4 separate regions of the Homo sapiens genome follow, and regions 1, 2 and 4 are each linked to region 3. Evidence: promoter capture Hi-C in 16 types of primary human blood cells and fetal thymus (Javierre and others, 2016). All regions are on one chromosome and are shown on one strand. Each heading gives the region's core, a stretch centred on a gene start or on the middle of the fragment in contact. The rest is flanking DNA. Distances are from core to core; before and after follow the strand shown. Region 1 overlaps ZNF236 (zinc finger protein 236). Region 2 overlaps MBP (myelin basic protein). Region 3 holds the start of MBP (myelin basic protein). Region 4 overlaps ZNF236 (zinc finger protein 236).

The links. The method cuts DNA at HindIII sites, captures the fragments that hold promoters and counts their contacts. A CHiCAGO score of 5 or more calls a contact.
Region 1: a contact is called between a fragment that was not itself captured here and the fragment with the promoter of MBP in region 3, in 3 of 17 cell types (naive B cells, total B cells and activated CD4 T cells). The highest score is 7.2, in naive B cells.
Region 2: a fragment that was not itself captured here is called in contact with the fragment with the promoter of MBP in region 3 in 6 of 17 cell types (monocytes, neutrophils, activated CD4 T cells and 3 more); the score reaches 8.5 in monocytes.
Region 4: a fragment that was not itself captured here is called in contact with the fragment with the promoter of MBP in region 3 in 1 of 17 cell types (total B cells); the score reaches 5.3 in total B cells.

The regions. Positions count from the first base shown.
Region 1 is chr18:76,968,826-76,971,575 of GRCh38, reverse strand. It overlaps ZNF236 (zinc finger protein 236), which reads right to left. Exons shown (of 31, transcript NM_001306089.2): 31 at 1-2,750. Among named protein-coding and RNA genes, the nearest start is that of MBP-AS1, 10 kb to the left of the region's middle. The HindIII fragment of the contact is 3,480 bases long and covers 1-2,750 here.
Region 2 is chr18:76,986,448-76,989,472 of GRCh38, reverse strand. MBP (myelin basic protein) reads left to right here. Exons shown (of 9, transcript NM_001025101.2): 6 at 561-596; 7 at 946-978. Among named protein-coding and RNA genes, the nearest start is that of MBP-AS1, 7.5 kb to the right of the region's middle. RefSeq lists enhancers at 161-210, 12-1,211. The HindIII fragment of the contact is 8,996 bases long and covers 1-3,025 here.
Region 3 is chr18:77,131,300-77,134,065 of GRCh38, reverse strand. It overlaps MBP (myelin basic protein), which reads left to right and starts at 1,283. Exons shown (of 9, transcript NM_001025101.2): 1 at 1,283-1,486. RefSeq lists a silencer at 1,019-2,318. The HindIII fragment of the contact is 15,459 bases long and covers 1-2,766 here.
Region 4 is chr18:76,941,280-76,944,006 of GRCh38, reverse strand. All of the region lies in intron 26 of ZNF236 (zinc finger protein 236), which reads right to left. Among named protein-coding and RNA genes, the nearest start is that of MBP-AS1, 38 kb to the left of the region's middle. The HindIII fragment of the contact is 2,065 bases long and covers 243-2,307 here.

The DNA of each region.
Region 1 (2,750 bases), core at 166-2,665, 160 kb after region 3:
AAGGAAGACACAGAACACTAGCTATAATTTCAAAGATCAAGTTTCCTTAAAATATTACAACAGGGGAGTAGAAAATATGCACGAAGGAAACATCCCCTAGTTAAGTGCCAGACAAGCACTGATGTTCATGTCCCACCAGCAGAACACTGTCAGGAAGAGGAGAGTGGCATTTGATGAGCCTCCCACTGACCTGGCTGCAAGCTGTCAGATGCCATGTCATAGCATTTCCTCTATTTAGATACTTTCTAAGTGCCTCAAGTTTTTCAAAGGGGAAAAAGTAGAGCTTGATGGGGGTGGGGTAGCATTTCAATCTGCATGTTTGAAAACATGTCTTCATTTTCATCTATTGCCATTCTATGGAAACGCAGCCGCTTGGGCATTATCTAGCAGGTGGGACTCCACACATGCTACATGCCTCCTGCTTCCTCAGTACCTGCACCCCACCTTCACGTTTGGTATCTTTGCAAAGGCAATTCATTCTTTCAGCTTCAGTGCTTCATGGTTACTTGAGCACACAAGCAGGATCAAAACACTTAGGAACTTTCAAAAGGTTCCTCAATGACTGGGTGCCGTTGAATAAAGCAGCAAATGAAAGGGAACAGGAACAGTTCTGACACATGCACAGGGCACTGTGCTGACGCCCACGGCTCGCTGTCGCGGAGCCATGCCCTGATTTTGAAAGTCTGAAGCCTTTCCAGTGGACACTGCAGGGGTAAACGCCTCTGAACTTCACAGAGGTAAAGGAAAATACCACTAAAGTTTTCTCTTAAAAATATCTGAACTTGAAATTAATTTACATGCCAAACTGTTTTATCTTAAATATTTTCAAACGAAAAAAATTAATCACATTTCCTAACTTCATCTTTTATTTATAGTTATTCCAAAGCAGATATGCTATGATGAGATAGTTCTAAAAATACAGTTCTTTATCCTCAAAACCCTGGTTATACATGAGGCCTAGAAATCTCTTTTCTAGAATTTTTAAAACAACCAGTAAAATATAAAGATCAACCTGTACCCCACAAAGATTCAAGTAAAATTATGTCTTTTCAAAACCTTATATTTTCAAGGAATGTTCTGCAAAAAAGCAGCTTTTATAATTAGGAAGTAAATCGAAATAATACATAAAATGTCTTGTGTTTGCTAATAAATTGAGAAAAGACACAAAATTGAATTATTGATATTTTCTTTTTCTTTAACCAAAATAAAAGTAGGCTCTAGATTCACCTGTTAAGGCCTTAAACAGTCAATTAACCAATACAATTCACCAAACTAGCTTTCTATACAATTAGGAATTAAACAACCCCTTTTAGAGATGTCCTGAGATGACATTTAATGCTAAAATCAAAATAAATAACCCAGCAAGAACAAAAGTTTAAAATTCCAATAATTTCCACTTTGGGGATATTTTTTCACCAAAATTAATCAACATTTCTAAAATATTTCAATACAAAATTATAAAATAAAAAGTGCATTAAAAGCAGAACCTTTAAAACTCTAGCACAATTACAGTTATTCTGCATATGCGGCTACAGCCAGGTTTACACACTGACATTCAAGGAAGGAAACCTCCGGATTGGTAAGAAGTCCAGTATCACAAGCATAAGTCAAATAAGGCTTTTCTTTTTCTTAAAAAAATATACAATACACAAAGCAGTTTGGAAAAGAAGTAATATTATTTAACAATTTTCTGACTTAAATATCTTCACATAACAAAAGTTTTCATATCACCGTCAATATTACTTATATACATATGCCAAAAGTGAACAACAACAACAAAAAAATCAAAAGATGCCCTTTCAAAATAACAGTAAAATGTCTATTTCTTTAGGAATCTGAAATGAGCTCCTCTCTTAATATACAAAGTCCATACAATATTTATAATAAAACTACTCTCTTCTGAAACCAAGGAGGCAACGAGAGAAAATAAAGGCAATTATTTTTCAGGAAAAAAAAATAAAACCCAGCTTTATATGACAATGAAAAAGATATCCATTTATGAATAAAATGAATACAATACTGATCTGAAGTGCTCGTGGGGAGGTGAAACTGACGCTCTTTCTGCAATTAGGACTAGTACTTATATTTACAAAATATACTGTTCAGCCACACAGAGGCCCATATATCTATGTACATATGTATTTATATATAGAACATATAAATAATTTCAAAGGAAAAATTAACATGAAGTAAAGAACCTTCCATCTTTGGAATGCTGTAGGAATGGCGTGCACGCACTCTGCCCAGCACGGGTGGGATTTGGTTTGGGACATGTTTTATGTGGCACCATTGACGATACTAAAGAATTCCCTGAAATCAAAAATACATCTGTTTATGCACGAAGAGAAAGTCATGGGGTTTTTACGGATTCGTGGCCTTAAGCTACAGATATGCTTCTTATTTGCTGGGGTGGACAGGGCCACCGTTGCTTGCTCCTTGCAGACGGTTCTGTGGTTTCCTACCTGCGATGTATGGCTTGTGCTTCTGCAATTATGTAACCCTGGACCTGAACACAGATTGATGCGGTAAGTGTGTCGCCAGCCCGTGTGGACAGCTGAATCCTTATTGGTGGGTCAGGTTTACTCGAGTCCCCATGTTGACGCCCCAGATACTGCATTCTTGTAACTAATGATTAAACATTTGTCATGGAGAGAATTGGTCCAGCCATCTCTCAAGGTATCAGTTATATTAACTTATGGTAGACTGAAAAGAGTCCATTTTGACTAATTTTCAAAATGCACAGAGAAAAG
Region 2 (3,025 bases), core at 65-2,564, 140 kb after region 3:
GGAAACTGTTCGGGGTATGTGGAAACTAATTTCTGCACAGTTTTTCTGTAAACCGAAAAGTGCCATGCAAAACGAAGACGATTAAAAACAAGAACAAAACCACAGGCTTCTAATTCCAAGATCTCAGTGCAGCAGACATTTTATGCTCGTATTCGATAAGTGCACTTAGGAGCTGCAGACCTGGGGACATCCCCTTGGAAGCTCTGAATGTCAGAGGGCCCGCTACTCCTAGCCCCGGAAAGGGCTCACGGTGAAGCAAAGTCCGCCGCCTCCCTCAGTGTCCCAAGATGGGCCCATTCCCCAGCTACGGAGCCTCTGGGAGGTGTTTTCCATCCTCTGAAACACTTCCTGAGTGCTCTGGGAGATCTGCATCATCTAGAATATTTTCAATCTCAGGTCTATACTTCTTCACCAACTAGGACAGAAGTGGGGAGGCTGGGCACCCGGGTGCTTCTGGCAGCTGATGGATGCTAGCCACCCTCAGCAGGCAGGAGCCCGTTAGGAAATGGACGGCGGCACAGGGCTCCCAGTGCAGCCCACGGTTCTCTGTGTCTTTCCAGGTGACGCCTCGCACACCACCCCCGTCGCAGGGAAAGGTAAGACCTTGGAATGTTTTGATTGATCATCACTTTTCTGATAGACCTTCTCTAAAATCCCATAATGTACCAAAGAGAGAGTTAGGCTCCGAGCTACCAGAATCCATCCCAAAACGTGTTGCCAGGCAGCTCCCAAGTAGAACAGGTCGGCAGATCCATGCACCCCTCCTGTCCCTCCCGCACCTGCACAGCCGCTGTGGCCCTGAGCCTGCGGCCCCCCTCGGAGCTCCGGGTGGAACCTGTTTTTACCACCTCAGCTCCACTGTGCTTTGACTGTGTTTCCTGTTGATTGAAAGGACTTTCCCTTCACTGACCACCATGTCATTATTTCTCTGTCTTCCTCATGCAGGGGAGAGGACTGTCCCTGAGCAGATTTAGCTGGGTAGGTGACGAACGCACTTCCATCGGCTTCCTCTTCCGTCCCAGTCCTCACAGCCCCGCAACTTTTGTGTTCTGCTCTGTTTCGGTTGCTTCCTGGCCTCCTTTTCTCTCCTCTCGAGACCTCTCTGCCCACAGCTGGGATCGGGCCGCCTTGTCTTCCACTGGGGAAATGAAACGTGGTCTTCCCTTCCGGAAGGTCTGGTCTCTTGCTTCTGTGCCGGGGACCCAGCCCTGCAAGGCCAGATCCTCTTCTCCCAGAGGGTTCCCAGGCGACGTGACTGGTCTCCCTCCCAGGGAGGGAGCAACACCACGTCCGAGAAAATGTTTAACTTCCTCCAACACAACCAGTGCGAGAAGCCCCAGGAACCCGCATGTGGAAGTGGGACTGGCTGGCCCGTCTCAGTGACCCCAGATGCTGACACTGGGAAAATGATTCTGCTGATGAACAGAAAAAGAGGCTAAATAGAGTTGCTCGATTTATAATAACCTCATTAATCCAAAGATTTTTGTTTTGTATGTGTTTAAATAATAATTAAAACATAGATATCAAGCCATCCAGAAAATCTTCCTTAGGAATTTTAGGCTGGTTAATACTGAAAGCAAACTTTCAAGGAAGGTTTAAAATGGCCAATTTGAACTTTCTAGTGAAAAAATTTGGTGTCTGAGCCAAATTAAAATGCCAATCATTATATTCTAACCAAACTTACAGACTTTAGTTACTAGCAAATACCAGATATGATTCTTACTGTATAAAAGTTATAATTTTAGAATAAAATGGAGGAATAACCACCAACGTATTGTAGATAGGTTGTGTCTGTCTCCGAAACTGCAATGCTCTCATACGCTAGAACAGAGCCTACCTACACTTTCTGCTCAATTAATAAGCATCATATAAATGAATGAATACATTTTAAAAGAAAAACAACAAGGAGAAAGAACAGGAAGAAAGAACAGGGAAAGAAAACAGAAGGTGGGGAAGAGGAAGGAAGAGAGGGAGGAAGGGGCAGGGTACTTGAGAGACCATGAGGATCCCAGATCAGTCCCACACATGATTACACTGAATTATGAACTAAGATATTTACCGAAACGTTTTCCATTAATGCATATTTGACTTGCTTTTTCTGACCTAATGAATTTGCAAAACGATGACAATCATGTAGCAAATGTACATGGACTAGTACTCACAATTAATTTTTTATTTTCTATGCCAGCAGGAGACAAAGATGATAGAAGAATGAAATTCATTTTTGACCCAGAAATCTTATTTTAGCTACTGCTTTATCTGCTCTTAATTTTCTAGGAGTGGACTTTGGGGCCGTCGTGCCGGATCCTCCCTGAATGTGGAGCGATGGGGGGTTGCACACAGGCCGTTCTGCCCCAGCAGCTAACAAGAAAGACCCTTGCATTCCTCCCTGCATCTCTCCCTTTTGGGTCCTACTAATGTCTGTTGAATTTCTCTTTTTTCCAAAGCAAAATCCTTCTCTGCATTTTGTCTGCTTGTCTGTTTCCCAGAGCCGCAGGACTCTCTCCTTGTCTGGAGTTCCAGAGAGCCCCCACTTTCTCTTTCTAAGCTGTGTTGTGTGTTTCCTGGTACATTCTAGGTTCCCCAAAGATAAACATGACTAAGGATTGGAAAGGAGGAAAGGCCGCGCAGATTGTTAATCTGAAAGTCAATCCCCGGATTTAGCTCTCAAAAATGCTTTATTTTTGGAGAAAAGCAATAGAGTAAGACAGAAGGACTTAACGCTTGCAGGGAAGTGGCTTTCTGCCATGTAGAGCCAGGCTGGCAACCTGCCCTCTGCCATCAGGGAGTGAGCATGAACCTGGAAACCTCTAGGACGCAAGAGCGAGGCTGGCTGTCCCCTCGTGTGCAGTGCTTAGACCTTCTTGCCACACATCCCGTCCCTCACCTCACTGGATAGCCCCCGAATCAACTGTTCACACGAAAGCAGCTGCCTGGTTCTGAGTGGCCATGCTCACTCCCAAGCACAGGCTGAATGAAAAGAAAACTGTGCAAGTAGCTTGTATGGTGGGAAGCCCCCAGCAGA
Region 3 (2,766 bases), core at 34-2,533:
GCTGTCCAGCCTCCCACGCCCACTCCGCTCATCCTTGACTTAAAGTGAGGTTGTGGGGCAGAAAAATTGGAGAAACACACTATCTTTGGCACCCTTTTCCCTCCTCACCTTCAGCCTCAAAGTCTCAGAACCCTCCTGCCCCCTCCACTTGAAAATCTCTCCTGAGGAAACGACCAGACTGAATGCTTTTGCGTCGTTGTGGAAGTATTTCTCTTCCAGTTGCCAGCATTTGAAGACAGTTGCTAAATCCTCCGGGGCTTTGGGGGAGGCTGGTTTTAGGCCGAAACCCCGACCCCGTGCTGAAGTCTGAGTCCCGCCTCCCAGCGCGGGCCGGGACAGCGCTCACCCCTCTCCCTCACTTCCTAACAAACTGTGTGGGTCCCAGGCTGCTCCAGGTCCCCTGGAAGCTCCAGATCCAGATCCCTGACTGGGGGTGTAGGTCAGGAGGAACGCGGGGCCTCATTCTGGGACTCCCCCAACCTCCTCCTCTTCCACCATCAGGAGGCTGAGAATCCAGAGAAAGATCTCTGACCACTAAATCTGTGTGCAGGTGAGTCACGGCTAAACAGCAGGCTTTTTCTTTTTAACAAGACAGCGACGAAGACCACGATGTCTCTGGGCTGCAGGACCAGGCTGCTTCCTCGCACCTGCGCGTGTTTTGCTGTCTTTTCCGCGCACGCTTCCTGCGCCGGTCCTGCAGGAGAAGGTGCGCCCCTAGCTCCCAGCTCCCAGCTCCCAGCTCCCAGAGGAGCACCTGCCAGCCGGACATGGGCCTGGCCTGGGCTCCAGGGGAGGGAGGGAGTGCCTTGGGAGGACCTGCCGGCTCCTTTCGCCTCCAGGCCGGGCTGACTCTCCTCCTGCAGGGCCGGGGCTGCGCCAAGTCTATCGGCAGTTTCTGGGGTTTCCAGCCCCTGAGGACGCGGGGAGATGCGGCCTGGCACCCCTCCCGCGAGGTCGAGGTCGGGGTCGGGGTGGGTTCGGAGGCCAAGCCTCCGAACGGGAAGGGTCGACGGGCCGCAGTTCGGAGCCCAGTTCGGCAGCGGGCGAGGCTCCAGGCCGCCCCTCCGAGGTCTGACCCTGCGCGTGGGCCCCGTGCGCCCCCCAAGTTCCGCGTGGGCAGAGCGGGCCCGGGGTCCTCCGAGCTCCCGGGGCGGCGCCGGCGGCCGCGTCCAGGTGGGGCGGGCCCGGCGGGATCGGCCTGTGTTTACCTGGCTCGCAGGAAGCCCGGGGAGGCGGGGCCGGGGAGCTGGGTGCGCGCCCGTCCCTCGGAGCCGCCGCCGTCAGTCACCGCCGCCGCGCGCCAGAGAGAAGCAGCCTCCGGCCCCGGCGGCCCCTGTCTCCCGACCCCGGAAGGCGAAGCAGGCTGCCCGGGGACCCCGCGCGTGGGCGCTTGAAGCCGAGACCAGCCTGCCCGGGCCTGGGCAGGCGGAGCAGGGCCTTGGACCCCGCGGCGCCCCTCGGCCTCGGAGCAACGAGCGCAGCGCCGGTGGGTGACCCTCGGGGACGGGCGGGCTGCTCTGCCGCCTTTGTCTCTGTGCCCCTCCGAGTGGGGACCGCGGAGACCTGGGCGGGACCCCGGACCGGAGCCCCGCGGGAGCCGGGGGCGCAAGATCGGGGACAGGAGCTATCCCGACGCCCGGACTCCGGGTCCCTTTCTTGGCTGGGGACGCGCAGGGAGAACCTAGGCAGCGGAGCAGGTGGCCGAGCAGGTAGCAGCCGGCGGCCTCCCTGACCCGAACCCAAGTCGCCGCCCCCGATCCCCATTGCGCGGGGGCTGGGCGCGGGTGTAGACGCGGGTTTACAGCGCCGGGGCCCGACCCTGACAGGTGTCCAGGGGTGGACTCCAGCCAGGCCCGGCGGTCCCAGGGTCGCTGAAACCGCTCGGCCTCGGGCCGTGGGGCTGAGGGGAGGAGTCTAGGGTGGGAGGGGACGGCGGTCAAAAGCGGCCACTCTGGGCGGGTGTGGAGAGGGTGCTGGCTGCCAGGGCGGGCTGGGGGGTCCTCCCGGCTCGCGGCGCCTGCTAATCACACCCCGGGGGCCCCGCGCGCGATCGCGCTCCTGCCCCTGCCCCCGGGGCGAAGCGCAGTCTCCCTCTGAGCTCCAGGGGCGGCCAGGAGAGCCCGGGTCCGGGCTTCCGCCTTCGCAGGGCCTGTCTCGGGCTCTTCGGCCGGGCCCGTCGCTGCGCCCACCTGGGCCCACGTGCGCCGCCCGCAGCCGCCCGCCGGCCCGCCCGGGTCTTCCCGGCAGTCCCCTCCTGGGCCCCACTGCCTGTCCTGGGCCGGGTGCGTCCGTTTTCCGTGGCCCCCGAGGCCGGGGTGTGTGACCTGCGGTCATTTGCCGCCACACTAGATTTTCCGGGGTGCTGGGGGCAGCGCCTTGTGTCCTTTCGCGTCCACCTGAGCCCCCCCGTTTTGGAAGGTGGAGTGGGGCTTGGGAAAAGGTTCAAGCGTCTTTGGGGACCCCCGTGCGACTCTGGCTGGAAACAGGCGAGCTCTGGTTCCTTGTTCCGTTTTCCAATTGCAACAACGTGAGAATCAACAAGTGCTCGGTTTCTCTGCGCGTGGGTGAGGGGCGCGTGGGCTCGCTGGGTGCTGGGGTGGGGAGGGGGCGTGGACTTCGTTCCGGGGAGGCCTCTGCCTCGTCTGACCACAGAACGCCCCGCCTGGAAAGAGAGTTTTTCAGAGGAAGGAAACGTCAGGGAACTCCAGTGTGTGTTTTGGACATTTTATCTGGCGAAGCTCCGGGGGACAGTTTAAGGACGGTCAC
Region 4 (2,727 bases), core at 26-2,525, 190 kb after region 3:
AACTTCACTATACCATTGTCAAGTACCCATAAATCAACCTCACTTACTGCTCACATGTACAATTTCATTAGAAATATTTTTCTTAGCAGTTCATAATTTTACCGGCCTATACACAACTCTTAATAAACTTAAAACAAAACATTGTGCCTCAATAAAAATGTCAAGATATTTACAAGTACAAGAGTAAATATGAACGACTTGTAGAAGATCAAGGCTAAGAAAGGCACAAAATTAAGAAAGCTTTAAACAGCATGGGCCAGATGACTCTCAGTGTTAAACTTACAACTAACTTGTTACTTCAGAATTGGCTTCTTTTCCCATCAGGAGTCTGTAATAAGATTTGCCAATTTCTGGGTCACTCCACAGTCAAATTTAGACTTAAAAAGCCACATTTATATACCTAAATACAAAGTTTTAAATGTTTTGCACCTGACCAATTATCTGTAATAATAAGTTTGTTTTTTTATGACAAGAATTAGTATAAAAGAGAATTCCCTTCATGAATAAGTAAATTGCTTCTTCTTGTATTCAGAATAAGAACTAAAAATCATTTTGCTTTCTTGAATAGATTTTCTGCATGCACGTTTACACCTCCTGATAAAACTGTCAGACTTCAGTGGGCAAGCAGGACACACAACTACCACCGGCCTGCTCCTCCTCACCCCTGAAGAGTCTAAAGTTTGGAACAAATAAATCAGAATTACATTTCAAAATTAGCCAATTTTCTCTGAATTAAAATTATCACTTACTCCCACAATATTCTTCCAAAATTGGGCCCTTTTCAAGTTTTAAATTAGAATTATGGACTTATAAAAACATATATATTCCAAATTTTTTGCTATTATGAACTCAAATTTGCTCTTCTTTTTTTTTTTTTTTTTTTTGAGACGGAGTCTCACTCTGTCGCCCAGGCTGGAGTGCAGTGGCACGATCTCGGCTTACTACAACCTCCACTTCCCGGGTTCACGCCATTCTCCTGCCTCAGCCTCCCAAGTAGCTGGGACCACAGGTGCCCGCCACCACGCCTGGCTAATTTTTTGTATTTTTAGTAGAGACGGGGTTTCACCGTGTCAGCCAGGATGGTCTGGATCTCCTGACCTCGTGATCCGCCCGCCTCGGCCTCCCAAAGTCCTAGGTTTTACAGGCGTGAGCCACTGCACCCAGCCAAATTTGCCCATTATTTAAGAATACTAGGCTGGGCGTGGTGGCTCATGCCTGTAATCCCAGCACTTTGTGAGGCCAAGGCGGGCGGATCACGAGGTCAGGAGATCAAGACCATCCTGGCTGACATGGTGAAACCCCGTCTCTACTAAAAAATAACAAAAAAGGTAGCCGGGCATGGTGGCGGGCGCCTGTGGTCCCAGCTACTCAGGAGGCTGAGGCAGGAGAATGCTGTGAACCCGGGAAGCGGAGCTTGCACTGAGCGGAGATCGTGCCACTGCACTCCAGCCTGGGCGACAGAGCGAGACTCCGTCTCAAAAAAAATAATAAAAAAATAAAAAATTAAAAAAATTATAAAATAGAATACTATTTAAGTAAAGTAAGACCACCTTTCTCTGTTTTTAGGAACATCATCTTTCATGGATTTTACAAAGAAACAAAAAATAATACATAATAAGTTTACATGACTTTCCTATCTTTTAAATATGTACAGTAATTTCTATGTTTATATTACTGTTTCCTTCAGTCCATTTAGGGAGATTCTTATTTTTCCATGCACAGAGTGCAGTGTTCAGGGTGGTATAATGCTGAACAACTTGATTTCTTCACATTGGATCTCTTCCCCGTGCTATTAGTCCGTTTCCTCATTAAATTCAAGGAGCACATGTCATTTTAAGGAAGTAATATTAAATCATTCGACATTTATCCCCTAGTGAATAACTCTTAACTGAACAATCATCATTAGACACCGGTTAATTTCTCTTGACCACCTTCTAATTTTCAGGTCAAATTTAATTTACATATTTACAGCCATTTTCTTGTAGGTTCATTAATCTCTTGACAATAAAATGGTGGTTTTATTGCTACCAAGGATTCATTATGTTTAGAAAAATACCATTCAAAAAGCTAAGAAAGTTTTCATCTGGTTTTTGCAAGTTTTCAGAGTATTAAATCAGCACAAGTCTAAGTTTGCCAGCTAATAGAAAAAAGATTCAAATAAAGCTACACAATTTCTATTGGATATTTTTAAATTACTTGTTGGACAATGCATGCTAATTAATCAATTTGGTTTAAAAATTTTGTATTTGATAATTTTTTTTAAAGTACAGAAAAGAATATACAGAATGAACTTAACCCACCAAAGCTTAACAGAAACACTAATGTATCTGGATAGACACAGGCTCCAGAAGACCCACCCGGCTCGTGCTGCTCACAAAGCCTCCTGCTCCCATGTCCGCAGGCCAGAGTGGAAGGGCTGAGGGGGGCAGCAGGGAAGCGCTAATGGCAGGGTGTGTGGCTGCAGGCACATCCTGGATGCCAGGCACAGGAGCCACCTGTGCAGTGGGTGGGAGGGAGAGGGCGTGGCAAACGAGGTACTGGCAGCTCAGCCAGCAGAGCCCAAGTCCACGTGGCGTAGCAGGGGCCAGGCAGGAGCCAGAGGGGCAGCTGATGGAGTTTGTCCTGAGGCGCTGAGGACCCACAGGACTTTTGTCCAAAAGCAGCATCCTAAATGAGAAAGTGACCCCACTGGTGTGAAGCCAGGGAGCCTGAGCTGCCAGCTGGTGA